2 separate regions of the Homo sapiens genome follow, and region 2 is linked to region 1. Evidence: promoter capture Hi-C in human tissues and cell types (Jung and others, 2019). All regions are on one chromosome and are shown on one strand. Each heading gives the region's core, a stretch centred on a gene start or on the middle of the fragment in contact. The rest is flanking DNA. Distances are from core to core; before and after follow the strand shown.

Region 1 (2,755 bases), core at 1-2,500:
AGGCGGAGTGGGGAGGAGGGAGCCCTCCGGAGTTCGGGAGCAGCACGTTGTGAGGGTCCACACAAGGGTGATGCCAGACCGAACACCATTAGGGCCTGGGTGTGAGTGTGACTCGGAGGCACCTGGGGGCCGTTGTAGGGCCGGGAAAAGCCAGGAACTGGCTGGAGCAGCACCCCAGCATCCCAGGGACCAAAGTCTGGGGGATTTGCATGTCTGAGGTTGCACTTGTGGGAAGACTTTTTGGAACCACTTAATCTCTGTGGCTCTGTGTAAGACCCGCGAAATAAAAAGAGGCAGTAGTACTCTTTGGAAGATTGTTTTAGGGATTAAATGAATAAAAAGCGTTTAGAACACTGCAGGACGCATTGTAGGCGCTGTATGGGTTTATGAAACCGAATATAAACAAATAAGCACGTCCCCCACCCAGCCAACGGCTTTGGGGGCCCCGTTCTGGCCAGTCCTGAGCCCCTCCACACGGCCCACGGCGGGCTGCGGGTCTCCCATCCGAGGAGGGTGCCGCTTTTCTGCCCCCGCTCCCTGGGTTCTGCGCCCAGCGCCATCCCGTGCGCCCCCGACCCTTGGGCATGGGGCACATGCCGCGGGGAGCCGCCAGGGAGACCCCAGAGGAGCGCGCCGCGGGCCGGCTTCCCCGGATGCCCCACCCACCTCCTCTTGGCGCTGCCCACCACCTGCCTCGGCTGCTCGGCCCCCGGCTCGCGAGGCTGCGCCCCCGACCCAGTCGGCGCCCACTCCTCGCCCTGCGGGCTCGCGGCAACTGGGCGGCCGGCCCGGCCCCTGCCCACCCCCAGCCCAGCCCGGCGCGCCGCACTGGGCATGCTCCGTAGCCTGGGCAGGTTGGGGCTGCGAGGCGACAGCTCGGGCTCTGGAGCCGGGAGGCGAGAACGAGGAGGGAGGCTCGGGGGCAGGGGAGGAGGAAGCGGCTGGCCGCTGAGGGGCGGCGGGGCCCGGAGCGGGGGACGCGCAGGGCCCGGCGGTGGGCGGGCGGGTCGGCGCTGCCCCGTGGGCTCGCTGGGGAGCCACGGCGGAGACCCCCGCCCTCAACTGAGGTAAGGACCGCGCGGCGCGGAGACGGGGAGGCGGGGAGGCCAGGGAGGGGGTGCGGAGGCAGGCGGGAGGGCGGGACTGGGGTGCGCCGGGAGGGGGCTTGGCGGCGGCTCTTTATGGCGAGGAGGGGGTGGTGGCGCCGCGCCGGGAGCAGTAAGTGAGCTGCACCGCCAACAAGATCTCTCACACACAGACACACACACGCACACGCACACACGGGCGCGCACACACACGCGCGTACACACTGGGTCTCCAGGCAGCGGCCGTCGCCGCATCCCCGGCAGCAGCTCCAGGCAAAGTGACAGGTAGGAAAAGGCATTTCGGGTCCCGCCCGAGGATGCTCCCGCCCGCCTTGGCCCTCAGGGCTTGTTTGCTTTCCGCGGGTGCGTCCCGGACGCGCGCGCGCGCGCACCCGGATGCCCAGCGGGGACCCCGTGCAGGTGCCGGGTGCCAGGCGCCCTGTGCGCGCGGGAGGCAGGGGACCCAGACGCCATCCCCCTTCCCCTGCAGTCATCGCCTGCTGGGTTTCCTCAGACTCTCTCCAGACGTTCACCCTCTTCTGGGCTAGAAATAGCTCGGCTCGACGTGTATATGATTATTTTGGTTGGAAATAGTTGGCACCGTGCAACGCATGTAAATGTGTATGCGTGTGGATCTTCTTGCCTCTTCTGGGGAAATCATAGAAATGATTGACCGTTTCCACTTAAAACAACACTGACAGGCTTAGCACTCATTGGGGGCAGGGTTCGGGCCTCCTAAAAGCCTGTTAGTGAAGGAAATCCTTATTTTCAGAATTTTAAAGTTGCTTTTGCTTTAACCAATTAGACTCTGTATAGTACAATACTTCTGAGTGTAGACTTCGTATATGGTACTGAATCGAAGTATGGAAATATGGAATTCTCTAATTTCCAAGTGTGTTTAAGTGCAACTTTATCTAGAATCATAAAACTAGCATTTTCCTAGAGAGAAATACAACTGCCCACTATAGTTTCCATAAATATGGATATATCTGAAAGATGACCCTACTCTTCCAACTTTTTTTCCTCTTAACTTCTGTAGTGATTCTAGCTATTGTTCTAAAACATGTATTTGAAATTTAATTTTGGCCAGAATATTCAGGAAAGGTGTTTTTTTTTCCATATACGTAATACTTAGTGGTCTATATATTTAAGTTATAGGTATGTGGAGATAGCTGTTTAATAATTCTTTTTGTCTGGAAATAACGTTATTCAAACATAGGCAGCTATGTATCATTTTAAAATGATATTGAATTTCCCCTTAAAGAGAAATCAGATTTATAATGTAAACATGACCAGGAAAAGCAACTGGTGACTTTACCTGGGGAGGCTCCAAGGAGGTTAAGAAAGTATCTGAACAACTGTGTTTTTCAGAATAGAAAAATTGTGTGTGTGTTGCGGGGGAAGGTAAAATTTTAACTTTATTCTTTTATTGTTTTCAAGACGGCTGTTTTCAGAAATGTGTGGTTGAACTGAGACCCTCATATTTTATACTCTTCAAATTTGAGTGGCCTCAGTTATAGAATCATACAGAAGATCAAAAGTCTAGCTCAGCAGGGGCATGTGGTGTAATCCCTCACTATCTGTGTTATGTAATCCAGAATGCTGTTTTTCATAGGACAGTCTTGCATGATCCTTAGCTGGTGTATTGATCTATTATATCATCTTCCTTT
Region 2 (2,700 bases), core at 161-2,660, 42 kb after region 1:
CAGTTGATTTGATTAAAACAAAAGAAAACAAAAATAAACAACCAACTCACACTTCTGGTCCTTTCTCTGGAAATTATGAATAAAAATATCAATAAAACTTTAAAATAGAATTTTAGCAGTCTCCCTATTTGAGAAGGAGAATCTCACAATTTTCACTGGTAGGCAATTCATGTGGGATTGTAATGCATGAGTGTGGGAAATAAATAAAATGATTGCTTTTTTTTTTTTCGTAATGGCCTAAAATGATAGCTTCTTGATTTAATAAACCTTTCCCCTACTCCCTACCACCACCCCTCTGCAACTTACCTACAATACACATATTCTAGTGCTTATCAAATTATAAAAGCTGGGCTCATGAAATAACAGGAGGATTTTTGTTTTCTGATATCAGTCAAAAATTGTTTGGAAGACAGGCAGAACAAGTTAAAGTGAAAGCCTAATATAGTGAAGGGAAAGATTTGTGTGCCAGCCACAGATGGACTAAGTTCGTTCTCACATAAATATTATCCTTTTTTTCTTGCCAGGACTGAACTGCAGTCATTGTCTTAATTAACTCAGGGAGTTTTCAGTTACAGCTTCAAAATCTCAGTCTTCTGGAAATTGTCATCTGGCTTTGTGTTGTCCCTAAGTAGCTGTGTGACCTGGAGGGAGGCACTTAACCAATTCAGGCCTCAGTATTGGGAGTCAAGGGTATGGAGGCCCAGTTTAGCTTTCTTCTAGCCCTGATGTTCTGTGAATCTGTTATTCAAGTTTATGGACAAGTTCCCACAGAGAAGGTTAGTAGAGTTTTTTAAAATTATTATTATTAAGCAATGGGTATTTTACTAAACAGTACTCAACTATTTTTTGCAAAGTGTTAATTTGTAGAACGTTTTGAAACTCCGCATAGAAAATGAATGCACAGGTCAAGGCTAACATAGCCTTTCAGCCATATTGTCTGGAATTGTTTTTTTTTTAAAACATATAATAAAAATTAAAGTTGAAGAAGAAATGCCAAAAATATATTTTTGATGGAAAATAACAACTTACACTGATTAGCATTTATTTCAATGAAATATGAATCTTTAAAACATAGGATTTAAACATCTTTCAATGGACATATACATTATTGTCTCAGATTCATAAAAATGTCTTGTAAGCTATCATTTCTCCTCTATTTACACTGTCTTTTGTGGGGGAAATAAAAAGACTAAACAGTGTTTAGATTATCTCTACACATTTTACATTTCTCCCAAAGGCTGCTGTGTAATGGTTGGCATCTGAGAGAATAAACAGGAAATTAGTGAGGCTGAGGTTCTCCTTCATCTTTTGCCAGGGCTGGACTCCTTGCTTCATTTATTTTCATAGGACACCAGAAATCTGAGAACAGTATTTAAGCTGACTACGTTTCTTTTATAGCTGGCCTTTTATAGATGGTCTACATGTGGCAATCTACAGATTGCCAGATCTTTCTCCTTTTCTCCAACTTAGTGTGTTGGCATTTGAAGTACCAAATGTCCTCTTCACCAATGAATAGTTTAGAGGAAGATGAACAGTGTAGCCCTTTAGGCATCGTAAAATACTGTATTTTTTTTCATAATCATGAAGGTAATATGTTTGTTATAGAAAATTTGGAAAATTAATATAATCCAAAATCCTACAACCCACAAATCACCACTTTTGATATTGTACTGTTGTTCTTTTTGGTCTTTCATCAATTTTTTTGACTACTTGTATTCATTAAGCAGGTATTCAATTTATTATTCAAACTGTTTCCAAGGTGAGCTGCTAAGAATGTTAATAGGTGTTCTGGGTCACTGGGGACATTGGGAAACTTTCCATGTCATATACGTTTGGGAAAATGCCAGATTGAACGATGTTAGACTTAGATTTGTCACAGACACCCCCCTCAGGGATGAGCTTCCTGAAAGGGCTCTATGACTCTTCTCTACTTGGGAAGGTACATTGGGCAAAGCCTGGAAGTTATTGGACAGAGAACTGGCTTTGGCCCTGCACCCACTAATGTTGTAATGTGGTGTTCTTCAGATGGCAGTGTGGATCTTATTTGGTTTTTGTTTGTTTTACGAAATTGAGATCTCATGCTTTTGTAACCTCCTTTTCCTACTTAATATATTATGAATGTTTTCTACTTTAAATCTGTTTTTCAAAGAGTTGCTTTCTCTCATTGTTATTTTTGAAAATATTCCATTTATGAAAGTTCCATTTATGAAGCTGGGGCCTAGCCCAGGTGACAGATCATTTCAGTCTGTGGGGATACTCTTGAAAGGTTCTGTCTGGGTTATAAAATGTTTATACTCATTTGAAATGTTTCCATCTTCCACCCACCCATTCTGACAAACCTTTAATTTTGGACAACTGCTGTTGAGGCTGTGGATTCACAGTTCCCAAAGCCACTGCTAATTTGTTTGCTTTGGAAAGACCTGACAAAAATAGACTTCTTTTAACACAAATGGATAATTTTCTCCCATTGATGGGCAGTTCATTTAAGAATATTTTATTTATTGTATTATAAAAATAGCCTCTTTGAGACGAATGGCCTGCTCCAAGTAACTCTCATAAAACATAGGGATTTTCTTCCATACAGAAATAATTACTTTGATTTAAAATGGGATATTGCCTTCTCAAAGTATTTTTTCCACTATGAAGTATATAGAAGTATGTATTTAATGTGTCTTAAAGTCCACTAGTGGAAGTATTACT

The links. Contacts are between HindIII fragments. The study calls those that stand out against the background at their distance.
Region 2: a fragment that was not itself captured here is called in contact with the fragment with the promoter of PLCB4 in region 1 in 1 of the 25 tissues and cell types used here (H1 embryonic stem cells).

What each region holds. Positions count from the first base shown.
Region 1 is chr20:9,067,837-9,070,591 of GRCh38, forward strand. It overlaps PLCB4 (phospholipase C beta 4), which reads left to right and starts at 1,251. Exons shown (of 40, transcript NM_001377142.1): 1 at 1,251-1,370. The HindIII fragment of the contact is 12,704 bases long and covers 1-2,755 here.
Region 2 is chr20:9,109,254-9,111,953 of GRCh38, forward strand. The region is part of intron 2 of PLCB4 (phospholipase C beta 4); the gene reads left to right. Among named protein-coding and RNA genes, the nearest start is that of PLCB4, 42 kb to the left of the region's middle. The HindIII fragment of the contact is 6,369 bases long and covers 1-2,700 here.